6 separate regions of the Homo sapiens genome follow, and regions 2, 3, 4, 5 and 6 are each linked to region 1. Evidence: promoter capture Hi-C in 16 types of primary human blood cells and fetal thymus (Javierre and others, 2016). All regions are on one chromosome and are shown on one strand. Each heading gives the region's core, a stretch centred on a gene start or on the middle of the fragment in contact. The rest is flanking DNA. Distances are from core to core; before and after follow the strand shown.

Region 1 (2,616 bases), core at 53-2,552:
TCCAACATACACTGTTTTCTCTTTCTCTTCTTGCATTGTTTTTCAAAACGAGTTGCAAAACTATGATCACTAATGTGTTAGGAAAGAAAAAAAACTAGTTGCAAAACATTACAACTTAGCTCACCTTCGCAGTTCAAGATTATTTTCTTTTTTATGTACTACCTGGTTTATCAGCTTTAACCTACAATATCTCGTCATTGCTTTCTGACACTCAAATTCAGTCTAAAATCAAATCAAGAATTTCCTAACACAAAGGTAAGTTTAGGTATAGGACCGATCTTATACCTTCAAGGGCAGTTTAAAGATTCTGCTAAAAATTAGTATGTATCTCCATCAATATTTTGAAATATTTATAACTGGTGGTAAGAATAGCCTTCCTACATGGGATAGTCAGGTTAAGATTAGAAATAACCAAGCGTATCCTCTAAGATAGTTTTTTAAATGTTTAAACTTACCTTTAAGGGAAATAAGTGGGGGCTGACTCACGGAAAGAGGGGATAGAAGGTAGGGAAAGGGCGAAGGCTAGAGTTAAGTGAAGAATCCCGTACGTAGAGTGACATCATAGAGGACTTTTGGCTGGTGAAAAGACCAGTCGGGAATATAGCCAATATATATCAACCTTGCCACTCATATAACTTAAAACCGACTGCATATGTATCCCCGTATTTCTTCTTCAAAACACTACTAACAAATAATAAATCACCGCCCATATAAGCAATCTGCGACTCTAATACGGGTGCTAATTTATTTGTTCAGGTGGTCTACAAACGTTCTGTTCTGCCTGTCTATTAAATTTCCACACGTACTAGGCGCTCACATGGGATAACCTGATGCTTACAAAGCGGATTAAACTCAGTGGCAAATGTTATCTGGGTATTCGTTTACACACGGAGACACCCCTAAAGGATCGCACCTGCTTGGGTCATAAGAAACAGAAAAATGCAAAAACTAAGGTAATTCCAAAAGACAGAAAACGCAGAACGCTTCTTTATCTGCAGAATGTACCGTTCTCGGACGGCTCAACGTACCAGGCTCCCAGCAACTAAGTCAAGATGCCTCCAACTCGAGAGACAGGACCGTCAGCCACTCAGTTAGCAGCTATCTTCTTCTAATTCCTATTGTACTAGATGAGCGCAATGAGGCGGGCTCTTAGCCGACAACCAACCAATTGAGTATTGTATGGAACCGGAAGAGACTCTGGTCCTGGAATTCTTGGGTATTCTCTATGGTTCCAGGGTCAAGCGGCGCTAAGAGAAGGCGGGACAGAGGAATGGGAAATGACGTGAGGAGTGCGGAGGGGCGCGAGGTTTCAAGATGGCGGTAGCTGAGGGGTTGACCGAGAGACCCAGTTGAAGGCCTTTACGAAGTGAAAGAGGCCGGGAGTCGCCCCCTACCCGCTTCTCGTAGTCCTGGGAGCACAGCAGAAGTGTGAGTGTATTGAATTGATTTACTACTCTTCCTCACCTCTTTCGTCCCTTCCACGTCCCGCGCAGCGGCTTGGGGGACACCCAGCCCCTTTGCCCCGCTCCTCCTCTCCCTGGTTGAGGTCTCCCTGTTGCGGACTGGGCTATTCCTGGGCCTGGGGTGGCGCGGCGACCAGTGGTTGCGCGGTTGGCATCGCCCGGGTCGGTTGGGGCCGCTTCTTACGCACGTTGATTAGTAGCCTTAGGTTTGACGTCTTGTACCTCGAGTCATGGTCGGTCAGCCGTCGCTATGGTTTCGTCAGTTGCTGGTGTTGCCTCCTTTGGTGAACCTGGACCCTATCCCATTGAAGCTTCTTTGGCTGTTTAGAGTTATCCAACGCTTATTTGGCTTGATTTTCCAGTCGCCTCCGCTTGTAGACAAAAAACTAATCTGCAGACTTAAGCTCCAGTGTCTTCCGTAAAATTCTCTGTAATTCGTATCCGTTGTGTTTCATTTGTGGGGGAGGAGATTCAGAACATGAGCCTGAGGAAACTTGAGAAAGGAAAGCACAAAAAACGCAGGCAATCAAAGATGGGAGAGCTTGTATATGTACTGATTTTGCTTGTTTTCCTCCTTCCCTACCTCCTACTCCCTGCTGCTCTCCCACCCCCCTAACCCCCCCATCCCCAGTTTTTCTTAGAAGGAAACCACTTGACAGGGTGTATGGTAGCTAGGCCAGGAATATGGATCCATTATAAAGATTTTAGTTAAGTAGTGAGTCAAACATCACAGGATATTTTATTTGTAATCTCATTGTATCATCAGAGCTTTGTTATAAAGTAATTGATGTCCCCATTTTTTAGATGAGGAAGCTAAAAATCAGAGCCTTTGATACCGCTGTCTTGAAGTAATTGCCACCAGAACAGCTGTGAAACATCTGGCTTTCTGAAACATCTGGCTTTCGGGGCAGTTGGACACTTGGTGAAAGAGACATTAACTGTAATAAACTGGGCTGACAAAATCTTCCCTTTCTTACCTTTAAAAAGTGTCTACTTGCAAAAGGAAGCAAATTTGTCCGCCTTTATTACTGGAAAGACTGCGCTTCAAAAAATTAAGCCCCATTATTTTGGAATAAGAGGAAGAAGTCATGTAATAGGGTACTGTGTTAATAAAAGTTTTAGCTTACAAAATATTTTTTCCTCAAACAAAAAT
Region 2 (2,616 bases), core at 31-2,530, 200 kb before region 1:
TCTCTCACCTTCTAAATCTTGTGCCTCTTAAGGGCAGGGATCACATCTTATTTATCTTGGTATCTCTCAAAATACGTAGTAAAGTATCTTGTATACAGTAGCTGCTCAATAAATATTTACAGACCCAAATTTGCTCTTAAAGGACAAAGGCTGTATATTATCTAGTTGTTTGGGATAACGGTCATTACATTTTTTTAAAAAACCCAGTGATGTGGGAAAATAAGAGAAAAGATCTTTTGGGAAAATATCAGTGAGCAAACCATTCCCATGAGAAAGTTTCCATCGGGTTGGAAACAACTTTTAAAAATCTTCCATAGTAGAAGCAGAGACTTGGTCTCCCCGGGCACTAGTCTCTGCCTTCTTAGAACAGCCTGGAATATAACTACTGTTTAGAAGAGCTGAGCCTCTCCTGTGATCCCATTCTCTTCCTTCTTTTTTCGCCTTCCCAGCTCTATACCTCACCCCAACCTCTTTCCCATTCCACTGGAGCCCTCTTTGTCCCAGGAGAGCTAATAGTAAATTCTTTATTGCTGTAGCTTTATTGCCTTTAGCTCTGGAAACTGTGTGCTTCCAGGCTGTAATTACGTTCCATTTATAAATATTATCTCTAAGAGAATAGCTAATAGCTTTTTTGTAACGCTATCTGTAATTCTGTTGCTGCTAAATTAATGTGTCAGCCAGAATCTTGAAGTAAACAAAGTTTATAAATTGATTCCTGTAGAATGATGTAAGATCTTACTAAACCCTAATACTGCTCAGATGAGAACAGCTCAGTTAATCAGCTAATAAGCCAGCAGTGAAATTAAAAATATAATTGAACATTCAGAGCAGTCTCCAAGAACCATGACAAATTAAAAATAAAACCCAACATGCGAATATCAGTTGCTTTGTGAAAAAGTCAGGTTACCCAGCCTCCAGAGGTTCATGTAGTTAGGTTCAAGCTAGCTTTTCCCATAAAACAGTTCAGATAGAAACAGTCTTTAACCTGCACATCAAAGTTTCAGGAAATGAAATGAAGAACATAAAGCATAGTTAGCTCTTTGACTTCCACATAGAGTCAGTAGACAAAAATGTTTCTTGAAAAGAGGGGAATGTCCACTCTGATGTCTTAGTTGTAATGACAGTGTCATGATGAGGATAGGATGGTGGCTGGATTCTATCTTCATACAAAGGAGTTCTGACAAAATTATGTGGAATCGCCTTCCCAAAACGAACAAGCACAGTAGCAAATATTAGCAAATATCTGCATAGTTTAACTGAAGAGATTCACTTTTTCTCAAGAGGCAGGTAGTCTTAGGTAATGATAAACTGTACGAGCTCTGAGGACAGAACTTCTTGGGTTTATATTAAAAAAAAAACTATTTCATTTGGACAATTTGTGCCAGTTTTTTTATTTATAAAATGGATGGAAGTTATAAAGATTAAGCAAGTTAATACAATTAAAGTGACTAAAACAGGACGTAGGACATCATAAGAGATCAATAAATATTTGCTATTATTATGTTACTACACTTATTATTTAGAATTATTTTATTTAGAATAATTATTAGGATTGTTTAGTTTTGAATTCTTACATCATTTAGAATTATGAGTCAGCTCTCCTCTAATTTTTGCTACCTTCTTTTATTCTTTTTCCCTTTGGTCAGGGGTTAAAGGGTTCACAGACTTTTTCTTTTTATTTTTACTTCAACTTTAATTTTAAGTTCAGGGGTACCTGTGCAGGCTGTACAGGTTTGTTACATAGGTGAATGTGTGCCCTGGTGGTTTGCTGCATAGATCAACCCATCACCTAGGTTTTAAGCGCAGAATCCATTAGCTATTATTCCTGATGCTCTTCCTCCTCCCATGCCCCAACAGGCCCCAGTGTGTCTTGTTCCCCCTGATGCATCCATATGTTCTCATCATTCAGCTCCCACTTATAAGTGAGAACATGCAGTGGTTGGTTTTCTGTTCTTGCATGAGTTTCCTGAGGATAATGGCTTCCAAGTCCATCCATGTCCCTGCAAAAGACATGATTTCATTCCTTTTTACGGCTGCACAGTATTCTACGGTGTATATCCACACCATTTTCTTTATCCAGTCTATCACTGATAAGCATTTAGGCTGATTCCGTGTCTTTGCTATTGTGAATAGTGCTGTTCTTGCTACCTTTATATCTAGCTCAGGAATTGCCAAGCTGTGGTCACTGACACTATTGTCTTGAAGAGATATTCTGACAACCTTGTCTCTATGACCCCAGAAAGACAATTCCATTAGTCCTATGTGGGAAATATTTTTTTTTAACTGAGGACCAAGCAAACATAAAGATGATTAAAATCTGAAAAGACAGATAATGCATAACATTCTGAAGTGACTTGCTACTACTTCTGAAGAAACTGAGGTCCCTGGGGATTCTTTGTAGTCCCTGGGGCCCCTCTATTCCTGGAGGCACAAGGAACACAGGCAGTGTGCCCCCTCCTCTGAGCCGTGACTTCCCTTTTCATCTGTGGAGATTCCTATTTCTCAAGGCTGGCTTCAAAGTGGATTGCAGTTCTCCCCAGCCTTTTCCTCTTTATGCTATCTCCCCACACTAACTAACAATTTTTCATTCAACAATTTTACTATTAATCACTGTAG
Region 3 (2,616 bases), core at 78-2,577, 170 kb after region 1:
TCAATAGTAATAGTATGTTGAAATACAGCTTTCCGAAGTACAGCTGCTCCTAGCCCTGCCTTCTCCTCATTCCTTTCTTTCGTCCTGCTTTTCCGAATTCCAGGATTCCTCCACACAATCAGCATATCCTTTCTCAAGCCCTTTTTTTCTAATCTGAGTATATCCAAATATTAAAACCTTATTCACTAAAACAGCATCATCTTTAATTCATTTGTGTAGTTGGACAGTTCTGGAATTAGAAATGAGGAATAAAATTTCATGTCAAGTAACTGATTCCAACAGAATACAGAGTCGAAACTAGATCACTCAGCAATGCCCCAGAAACACCCAGTAGAGTCGTCTCTCCATCCATAGGGAATTGGTCCCAGGAACCCCTGTGGATACCAAAATCCACAGCGGCTCAAGGATCTGATATAAAATGGCATATCATGTGCATATAACCTGCATACATTATCCTATGTACTTTAAATTATCTCTAGATTGCTTATAATCCCTAACATGATGTAAATACTATGTAAATATTTGTGGTACTGTATTGTTTAGGGAATAATGACAAGAAAAAAAAGGTCGGTACATGTTCAACACAGACAAAACCATCCTGTTTTTTCCAAACATTTTCCATTCCCATTTGGTTGAATCCACGAATGCAGAACCCATGGAGACAGAGGGCTGACAGTATTTCACTCTGTGGCACAGGATCGGCCCAGTTTGCTGTTTCTGCCTATTCTGCTCTAAGGTAGTCAGCAGATGACTTACCAAGGCAGGAGCATCATCTAGTGGTGAATATTGGCACCACAGGCTATACCGCGGCTCTAGTTCCTTCCCAGGGAATTGTTCAGACAAAGTACAGGGACAGGGATTGCATCTAGTATCACTTATGATCTTGTTTTTAGCCGGAGTGAAAAACAAAGTTTATTTAAAACAAATGGTTTTCACCACACATTTTGATTTAAAAAAAAAAAAGCTGCAAACAGGTGGTAGCAGATGAGCAGTTGGGCTTCCTCCTGTCTCCCTACCTCTTCCTCCATACCTCCCTTTTTTCCATGTCACTTCTCTACTGCAGCTGTGCATTATAATCACCAAAGAGCTTAAAAATCTACCACTGCCCTTTGCCCATACAATATTTGCGACATACTTATACTAAGGAATTACTTATTGTTTATCTGAAATCCAAGTTTAACTTGATGTCCTTTATTTTTCTTGCTAAATCTGGGAACCCTACTAAGACCACTTCAAAATATATTAAATCAGAATGACTTAGGGTGGTGCCTGGGCATAAGAAATTGTGCAGATGCTCCCCAGGTGATACTATTGTTTGCTATAAGTTAGAACCATGGACAGTACGGCTTTTATTCCATTTGGAGCCATTTGCCTCATATTCACTGAGCCTTTGTTCCCCCACCAAACTGAGGGTTGGGCTGATATTTCTCGTGGCCCAATAACAAGATGCAGATGAACTGAGGAGGAAGAGAGTTTTTATTTCTGTAACCAGTTACAGGGAGAAGGCCTGAAAATTACATTTTTTTTCAGAGCTTATATACCTTCGAAGCTATATGTCTACATGTAAGTATGCATTCATTTAAAGACATACGTGATTAACTTCTTTTAATCTACAACTAAGGTCTGAGTCCTGAAGACCTTCTCCTGGAGCCTCAGTAAGTTTACTTAATCGAAGTGAGTCCAGGTGCTGGAGTGATTACCCTTATCTTGTCTCCTGCTAAATTACAGAGGTTTAGGGAGTTCCTTCAGACCCCCAATAAACTTCTTTGTGGAGGCCTGGGGAGTTTCTTCAGACCCCCAATAAAAGTTGTTTAATCCTAAATGGGTCCGGTTAAGAAGAATTCCTTCGTTATTTTGTCATGTTTTAAGGCCCAGGAAAGGCCTAGGCAAAACTCTTGGTGGGCTTTTGTTACATTCCAGCCTTTGTATAAGGGCACTGGCTTTTAATATTTAACTTAACCACTCAGTCAGTACTAAAACGGTTGTTATGGAGGCCTGCCACACCTTCACTATTTTTTTCTCTCTCCAACGTAAAACTTGCAAGCTCTTGTAAATTCACTTAGTCTCCCGTATCAACCCGGCCTCATCTAAATTGGTATCACATATTTCATTAATTTCACCCAAGGGAATAACTGGATAAGATAATGCAGGTGGTCATGCCTGAGACAGAAACCAGAGAGCTGGGGATCTCTTGTCCGCACTGAGTTGAAGATATTTTTAAACTATTCCTTGCCTTAATCACTCCCATCAATGAGAATAAGAATTCTCTCTTGATTTAGTTTACTATCCCCTTAGCTAATTTGCCCGTTTTTTTTTCTTCCAGGTGTACCTACTTGTAAAAAACTGTTGGGAGGAAGATCCAGAAAAGAGACCAGATTTCAAAAAAATTGAGACTACACTTGCCAAGATATTTGGGTATTGCTGAAATGTTTACTTTTATTCACTAATTGCAGGGTTTTAAAAAAATTATAGTTGACATTCAGTGGCACCTTAGAATGAGAATGTCTATTCCAGTGAAAAATCCCAGGTGGCAACCAACAACTGCCTCATAACATTAAAATGATATGGAGACTATTAGACCGTTTTCCCAGGGAAATAATCACTTGAAAAGTTACA
Region 4 (2,616 bases), core at 71-2,570, 180 kb before region 1:
CACTGAGGATTGCCTGGGAAGGACACTGATTACTACAAGTGCTACTGTTTATCAAAGGTGTGTTGGATGAGTTGAAAATATGTCCACACAAAAGCCTGCACATAAATATTTAGGGGCATTTTATTCATTATTGGCAAAACTTGGAAGAAACCAAGGTATCTTTCAATAGGATAAAAAACTGTGTATATCCCTACAATGGAGTATCATTCCGTGATTTTAAAAAATGAGCTATCAAGCCACATAAAAACATGGAGAAACCTTAAATGAATATGGTTAAATGAAAGAAGCTAGTCCAGAAAAGCTGTATACTGTATGAGTCTAACTATATGACATTCTGGAAAAGGCAAAACTATAGAGACAGTAAGAACATTAGTGGATGTCTGGGGTTTAGAGAGAGAGAGAAGGATGACCGGGTGGAGCATAGGGCAGCGAAACTATTCTGTATGATACTATATGTACTGCAATATGTACTATAATGGTGGGTACATGGTATTTATCAAAACCCTTAGAACTTTACAACACAAGGGATAAAAACTCTAATTCAAGCTATGGAGTTTAATTAACATACTGCATCGACATTGGCTCATCAAATATAATCACACTAATACAAGATGTTAATAATAGAGGAAACTGTGTAAAAGGGGAGAGAGATGGTAGAGAGGACATATAGGAACTCTACTTTCTGCTGAACTTTTCTGTAAGTCTTAAACTCCTCTAAGAAATAAAGTCTATTAATTTAAAAAATATGCAGTGATTGCATTCATTGTATGATACATAAAAATCTGGTAACCAATTTTTAAAATTATATTGCAGGCATTCAGTATGTAAGATCCTCCTCTGGGTGCTAGAGGATGTGTAAAAAGAGGAAATTGGTAAGGAAGTGGTTTGCCAGGTAGAGTGGAGAGATCTCCAGACCTCACCCTTATTTCCAATAGTTCACTTGGTAGCCTCAGACAAAAGACTGCCAATTCCTGTATGTCTCAGATTTCTCCCTTGAAAAATGAAGTTTGGGGAGATGAATTATGAAAATCTTTCTACCATAAAAGTCTATAATTTATCATTGTATGCCCTCAAAGGTTGTTTGACAAAACAAGAAGGTTTATGAAATTTTGGGCCTACCCTGATTTCTTTTAGGGCTTTTGTATCTGGGCACACATGTACTTATTTCGAGGGTAAATTAAATCCCCACATTTCTATGTCTTCACAGATCTTCTGCCTTGGGTATTTCTCATAACTTTCAACTGCCCCTTGAGGCCTGAAGTATATAAAAAGGCAGAACTCCAAGTGCGAAGTTCTCACTTAAATCAGTGGATGGCTTACCTGTTCCTAGCCCCTCCATTCCTGGAATGTCATCTCCAAATCTATGGAAAAGAATAAAGGAGAAATTAGCTGAGATTAGAGCAAAAGAATTTTGGAGTCACTCACATGGAGAGTTTCTTGATTCAAGGGGGAAGAAGGAGAGGTTTAAGTGTTTGTATGTGAGAAACTCCTTTAGTTTGCCCTGAACTGGAGCAAAGAAAATGTCACTCAGGCAGGTTTTGGTGTATCCCACTGGAGAGATATTTCTCTCCTGTAGGAACTTAACCTAAAACAATTAAGAGTCAGAAAGAACCATCAGTGGGACAACTTAGTCAAGTTTCACTTTTTATAATAAAAATTGAAATGAGAAAGCAATACAAAAGGCATTAAAAATGATGAATTCATCCATTTGTTTACTTATTCAAAATCATTAACTAAGCATCTATTATATACCAGGCATTTTATTAAGCACAGAGAGTTAAGAAGAAAACAGACAAATTTTCTGAGTGGTCTTAGCCTCGGAGAATAGATACAAATAAATAAATATAAGATATAATGTAAGTTATGATAGCTGAATGTACAAAATGCAAACATGAAAGTAATGATAGTTTGTTAAAGAGAGTCAGGAGTAGCTTCAAAAAGAAATTAGCATATGATCTGTGTGTTGAAAAATCAATAGGATTTTGCCAAGGAGAGGAAGAGGAAAATAAAGAACTGAGGATACAAAATTGGAAGACATAAATATAAGCTATATTTTCTGGAAATGGTCAGTGGTTCAGTGTTACAGATTAACGTAGAGGTTGTCTCAGTAAAGAGGAGTGGTCATCAAAAGCCTGCAAGGCAAAGTCAAAGTTTATTGTAAAAAGCCTCTATTTGCCATGTTAAATTCGGCCACAGACCTGGAAGTTGAGAAGGAAAGAATTCCAGGGATAAAGACACAATTCATCAAAGATGGAGTTACAGAGGAAAAGAGAGGATGGAGTGGAAATTTTTGTAAGTCTGTTTAATATTGTGAGCACCAATTTCCCAAAACAAAAGCAGTCTTGTGGGAAAAAGAAAGTAATAGAAAGTTTTTCTTTTCATTTTGGTCTTACCCTTTCACACCTTTCTTTGGAGGTTTACTCTTGAATTGGCGAGTCTGCCTCTGCTTGAACTTGGGAGGGCCTTTGCGTGGGGTGGTAGGACCCTGGTTTGAAGCTGGAGCAGGCAGAGTAGTGTTGTCACTCATTTTAACTCCCCCCGGGCGGCTGATGTTTCCCTTTCAGCCTCCTTAGACAGTGAAAGATAAAAAAAAGAAGATCTTTCAAGTCATGGGGA
Region 5 (2,616 bases), core at 54-2,553, 150 kb before region 1:
GGGGTCCACATTAACCTGGTTAAACATATAACTGTTCATTCTCCATTTCATTTTTCCTGTGCAAAGGACCAAAGTCAAAAATAAGCAAAACTCAGCTCTGCCCTTTGTAGAATAGGGGATGAGCAGCTGAGGAAGGTGAGGAAAGCCCATCCAGAAGATTCTATGCTGATGGGCTGAGTCCTCCCCAATCTCCCTTTTACTTCCTCTTTTCTTTTCTCATTTCACAAGCTTCTTTAAATTAGGGAGCATTTGAGTCATTAAATTAAGAAGGGGCCTCAGAGATCCTCTCATGCCACGGCTTCTTTTTGCAGAGGATGAAACTGGGGCCCAGTGAGGTTAAGCAACTTGCAGGAGGTAACGCAGGAACCGAGTTGCGCTGAAACATCGTTATCTGACACTTCCCTGCTTTGTTAAAGCTGTCTCTGCAGAGCTTGCAAAGAAGCATTTACCTCTGCTTGTGCACCTCCAGGTAGATTCCCAAGATGACTAACAAACTCTAATTTTATTATAACTTCTTAAAGATGACTGAAGCAATAAAGCATAGTGCCTAAAAGTCAGACAACCTGGGCGCAGACATTAATTCTGCCTACCACGTGGTATGTCTTCTTAGGCAAGTTACTTAACGTGAACTTTAGTTTCCTGGTCTGGAAAAGAGAATGATGATGCCAACAAAGTTACTGTAAGAACTAAATGAGATAATCCTCTAGAAAGCACTTAGCACTACATGTGATAACTATTATAATTTGTATTAATAATATCAATATTATCAATAGGAAAATCAGTTGTCCTTTAGATGATGGGATTGGAAAACAGTCTGTAGAATTTTCATAAAATTCCTATTCTCATTTCAACACACATCCATAAAATAGGAGGATAAAAAGAGAAAATTGTTGTTTGTGGTTAAATATGCACACAGATAATTTGAGAAATCATTGTCAAACTGTATATGCCATTTATGGCTGGGGCTTCGGGAGAAACTGAGGTTACCCAGAAATAACGTTAAAAATGCAGTACAATGCTTAATAATATTGTATTGTACTTGAGTTTTGCTGAAGAGTAGATTTTAGGTGCTCTTGCCACACACAAAAAAAAGTGGGTGAGATGATGGATATGTTAATTTGCTTGACTATAGTAACCTTTTCACTATCTATGTATCCCAGACATATTTTACATCTTAAATATATACAATAAATACTTTTTAAGAAATTGATTCATAGGAGGTATTTATGTATTCCCGATATCAATCTCTTGTTAATACATGCATTGCGAATGTCTCATTTTTAGAATCCAGACCATTACTCTTTTCACTGTCTATAGGGTGATATTAGGAAAGGAATTTTAAATGCTTGTGTAATTGAAATATTTAATATTTTCTTCTATGTCTTAGTTTTTGCACTTGTAAAATGTAATTGTGCCTACCTCACAACATTGCGATGACTGAATGAAATAATGCATGCCAAGCACTTATCCCGTACTAACTGAGTTTTTGGCTCACAAGTGTTCAGTAACAATTTGCTATTACTATTATGGTACCCTTTATTATGCAAAGACCTGTTCAGTGAAAGAAAAATAATTTTATGTCTGGGAGAAAAATAAGTAAAATAAAATAAAATAAAATATGCAGCATCTGTTGGGGATTCACATACATTTTATTTTTTAATTTTTAAATTTCCTTTTAAAGATGAATTTTATTGCATATATTTAAGGTATACAACATAATGTTTAGGGACACACATCGATAGTAAAAATGTTAGTGAAGCAAATCAACATATCCATCATCTCACGTAGTTACCCTTTTTTTGTTTCTGTGCCAAGAGCAGCTAATGTCTACTCACTTAGCATGGGGATTCACATACATTTTAAATAACAAAACACAGACAGATATTCTCTCATATTCACAGGTGAAATAAGGTAACTGAATGGTAACTTAGCTGACCCATGACTGCAGGTCAGGAGAAATATGCGGAGGCCTTAGAAAAGTAATCATCTAAAGATGATGTGCTCTAATCCCTCATCCCCCAAGATGAGGAAACTCAGATCCGCAGTGGTTGCAACATTCAGTTAACAGGGGAAAAGCTAGTTAGTAGGAAAGCCAGAACCCAAACCCAGGCATGCATAACAAGGCCTAGTTCAATGAAGAGAGCATTATCCAAAATCAAACGGAATGACCACGGAATTCTCCTAAGGGTCTACTTCCTGCACCCATGTGCACCTGGGCTTCTCTGCCAGGCTTTGTGGTCATGCGCCCTCAGACACAGGTGTCACCTGATATCTTCTGCTTCAATATATTCAACACTTTGAGCAGGTGGACATGACTCTCAGCTTGAGACTAAGTTGTGTCAATGATCTGGTGGAGCTCCAGGAAAAAGCAAGCTTCTGCCCAGGCACCTGTAATCCCAGCACTTTGGGAGGCCAAGGCGGGTGGATCTCTTGAGCTCAGGTGTTCAAGACCAGCCTGGGCAAAATGGGGAAACCCTATCTCAACCATAACTACAAAAAATTAGCCAGGCAGGTGGCATGTGCCCGTAGTCCCAGCTACTCAGAAGGCTGAGGCAAGACAATTGCTTGAGTCCAGGAGGCAGAGGTTGTAGTGAGCCAAGATAGAGCCACTGTACT
Region 6 (2,616 bases), core at 40-2,539, 130 kb before region 1:
TTTCCTTTAATCCCAGAGTTAGTTTTAAAAACTATATAACTCCTATTTTTGCCTATTATCTCAGTGCTCTAAAATTATTCTAACCTACATGCAGGAATGAGTAAATAAATGCCCTTTAAACAAAAATAGAGTTGGTTATGTTAGTTTGTTTGCTATTTCACCGTTAAACAAATTGTTCCCAGAAGAGTTGCTTCTCATGTGTATCTACAACAGTGCAGCCAAACTAGGCAGGCCTTTATGATTTTGAGGCCTCTCTCAGCCCCTAGTAAACTTCAAGCTCTATGACAAGGCCTGACAGGAGTCTCAGGCTCAGCTACAATTTCGTGGTTACCTATTAACTTACAGAGCCTGGAAAATTCAAGAATGTCACTGCCAGTTAAACCTGAATTGTTAGGGGTAAATCATGTGTTACTGGGCAGTAAATCAAATCTATGATTTCTGGTAAACATCATATCATATTTCTTTTGCCTATCGTTTGTCTCTGCCCTTCGAAATAACCACTGTGGTATTATTTTTTCTCTTGTTTTTAGGATTTAGAAATACCAGCAGTGCCCATACTCCATAGCATGGTGCAAAAATTCCCAGGCGTGTCATTTGGGATCAGCACTGATTCTGAGGTTCTGACACACTACAACATCACTGGGAACACCATCTGCCTCTTTCGCCTGGTAAGTTGGGTGGGTAGCTTGAGCTTTCTCCCAGATTTTCACTGGGTTGTGGACTCATAAACTTGTGAGACTGGAAAGGACTCTATGTCTTTTACACTAATGATGGTACCAAATTCAGGGACATTGTTGACAAGGATGATGACTCAATTCAAGCTTCCCAAACAGGTACTGTAATGAAATGGAAAGAGGACAGGACTGAAAGCCAGGGAATGGAATTTGTGGTACTGCTTTGTCGCTCAACAGCCACATGACTTTGGGCAGTCACTTAACATTTTTTATCTCCAATTCTTTCCTTTATAAAATAAAAGAGTTAGACTGTATTATCTCTAAGGTCACTTTGAGCTCCAAAATTTTTATATTAAATATTTTGAGGAGTTCATTTATGTTCTTCAAACATTTATTAAATACTTCCTGTATGCCCTATGCAAGATACCGATAATAAAAACATATTAAATATATTCTCCAGTCTCATAGATCTTTAAGTATGGTAGGTATTGTATATATAATATGCAAGTATCTATAATAAAAAGAGAATCACTATGGGTAAAGTTTTATCACAGTTCAAAGGATAGAAACAGTGTGGGAATTCTGAAAAAAAAGAAAAGAAAAAGACAACAGAATTGAAACTTGAAGGATAGATAAGTTTAGACAAGCTAAAGAATTCATGGCCAACGGGAAAAAACTCAGGAAACAATAAACAGGCCAATCTCACTGGATCCCAGGGTACACATTGGGGAAAATGAATATAAGAGAAAGAAACTTGATTAAAATCGTATTGTGGGGAAAAAGTAGAATACCACTTTAATGAGTTTGTCCTGAATTTGGCTGTTACTGGAAAGCCCCTAAAGCCTTTACATCAGGGGAGTAACATGAACAGAAATGTGTTTTATTAGATTATTTTGACAGCAAGGTGGAGGATGGATTTTTAGGTTAAAAGGCAAGAGAAGAGGGAGCTTTTGTTAGGCTGACAAAATAGACCATGTGAGAAGTATTAAGAGTCTGTAGTAGAGAGGTAGCAACAGAAATTAAAGAAGAGGAAGATCCTGTGATCATTAGATATCACAGTTATGGAAAGCAGGCAAAGCTTAAAGCCAGGGTGTCTAAGAATAGTGAGGTCATGTGCAGAAATAGGGGTTTCTGATGCTTTCATTGGTCATTGAGTTCTACTTGTTGGTGGAATATCAAGAGTCCACTGAAAAAGAGTAAATTGATGGAAAAGAAAAAGTTTTCAGTATTTCGGGACTGAATGTCGTGCCCCTTCTAGTTTCCATCCTTTCTTTCCCTTTCTTTTCTCATTGAAACTTCTTTAAGTGTATTTTGTACTGTCTTTCTCTAAACTAGACACTACTATCTAGTTTATGCCCCCATCACACCATTAAAACTACATTTATCCAGGTCTGCATGGCTTCCATATTGCCAAACTCAATGAACCCTTTTTAGGTCTTATTTTACTCAACATTTCTGTCATGTATGATGTTAGTGATGACTTCTTTCTTTTTAATGTTCTCTCTTTCCTTGAATTCTAGGAAACTACTTCTCCTGATCCTCCTGCTGCTTTTATAATCTCTTTGAGACCTTCTCTTCCTGTATCTACAATGCTGCCTGACCCAACACTTTTTACAGTCTGGGTCATGGAACCCATGCTATGTGAAGGCAAAGACTGTTCTGTTCAGTGTATCCACAGAGCCTAGAACAGTGCCTGCTGTGCAGTAGGTGCTCACTAAGTATTTGTTTAGAATGAATATATGAAGAATCAATGAATGAATGAATGAATGAATGAATATGTTCTTCTTAAGAAGTACAATTCTTTTGCATATTCCACTATTATGTGCTTGCGGAACATTTAGAATATTTTATCCCTAGTCTGGACTTCTCTCATGATTCAAATGTTTGCTGGGTATATACCCTCATAAGCACTATACTCTTAAAATGTTCAAAACTGAATTTA

The links. Contacts are between HindIII fragments. The CHiCAGO score rates a contact against its expected background, and 5 or more counts as called.
Region 2: a contact is called between a fragment that was not itself captured here and the fragment with the promoter of WBP11 in region 1, in 10 of 17 cell types (naive CD8 T cells, neutrophils, fetal thymus and 7 more). The highest score is 8.2, in naive CD8 T cells.
Region 3: a contact is called between a fragment that was not itself captured here and the fragment with the promoter of WBP11 in region 1, in 1 of 17 cell types (neutrophils). The highest score is 5.5, in neutrophils.
Region 4: a fragment that was not itself captured here is called in contact with the fragment with the promoter of WBP11 in region 1 in 11 of 17 cell types (total CD8 T cells, fetal thymus, naive CD8 T cells and 8 more); the score reaches 10.3 in total CD8 T cells.
Region 5: a contact is called between a fragment that was not itself captured here and the fragment with the promoter of WBP11 in region 1, in 13 of 17 cell types (fetal thymus, total CD8 T cells, naive CD4 T cells and 10 more). The highest score is 22.4, in fetal thymus.
Region 6: a fragment that was not itself captured here is called in contact with the fragment with the promoter of WBP11 in region 1 in 7 of 17 cell types (total CD8 T cells, naive CD8 T cells, naive CD4 T cells and 4 more); the score reaches 9.5 in total CD8 T cells.

Annotation. Positions count from the first base shown.
Region 1 is chr12:14,802,164-14,804,779 of GRCh38, reverse strand. It overlaps WBP11 (WW domain binding protein 11), which reads left to right and starts at 1,302. Exons shown (of 12, transcript NM_016312.3): 1 at 1,302-1,428. It overlaps C12orf60 (chromosome 12 open reading frame 60), which reads right to left and starts at 1,110. Exons shown (of 2, transcript NM_175874.4): 1 at 1,029-1,110. SMCO3 (single-pass membrane protein with coiled-coil domains 3) reads left to right here. Exons shown (of 2, transcript NM_001013698.2): 2 at 1-130. RefSeq lists an enhancer at 767-1,006. The HindIII fragment of the contact is 2,157 bases long and covers 1-1,776 here.
Region 2 is chr12:15,005,745-15,008,360 of GRCh38, reverse strand. It overlaps LINC01489 (long intergenic non-protein coding RNA 1489), which reads right to left. Exons shown (of 4, transcript NR_120466.1): 4 at 1,678-2,000. Among named protein-coding and RNA genes, the nearest start is that of LINC01489, 5.2 kb to the right of the region's middle. The HindIII fragment of the contact is 5,674 bases long and covers 1-2,616 here.
Region 3 is chr12:14,628,445-14,631,060 of GRCh38, reverse strand. It overlaps GUCY2C (guanylate cyclase 2C), which reads left to right. Exons shown (of 27, transcript NM_004963.4): 20 at 2,324-2,415. Among named protein-coding and RNA genes, the nearest start is that of GUCY2C-AS1, 36 kb to the left of the region's middle. The HindIII fragment of the contact is 6,504 bases long and covers 1-2,616 here.
Region 4 is chr12:14,977,924-14,980,539 of GRCh38, reverse strand. It overlaps PDE6H (phosphodiesterase 6H), which reads right to left. Exons shown (of 4, transcript NM_006205.3): 2 at 2,394-2,568; 3 at 1,321-1,361. The coding sequence starts at 2,527. Among named protein-coding and RNA genes, the nearest start is that of PDE6H, 6.2 kb to the right of the region's middle. The HindIII fragment of the contact is 3,225 bases long and covers 1-2,616 here.
Region 5 is chr12:14,954,029-14,956,644 of GRCh38, reverse strand. The region is part of intron 1 of ARHGDIB (Rho GDP dissociation inhibitor beta); the gene reads left to right. Among named protein-coding and RNA genes, the nearest start is that of ARHGDIB, 6.3 kb to the left of the region's middle. RefSeq lists an enhancer at 310-479. The HindIII fragment of the contact is 2,145 bases long and covers 231-2,375 here.
Region 6 is chr12:14,932,908-14,935,523 of GRCh38, reverse strand. It overlaps ERP27 (endoplasmic reticulum protein 27), which reads left to right. Exons shown (of 7, transcript NM_152321.4): 3 at 531-668. Among named protein-coding and RNA genes, the nearest start is that of ERP27, 4.3 kb to the left of the region's middle. The HindIII fragment of the contact is 931 bases long and covers 824-1,754 here.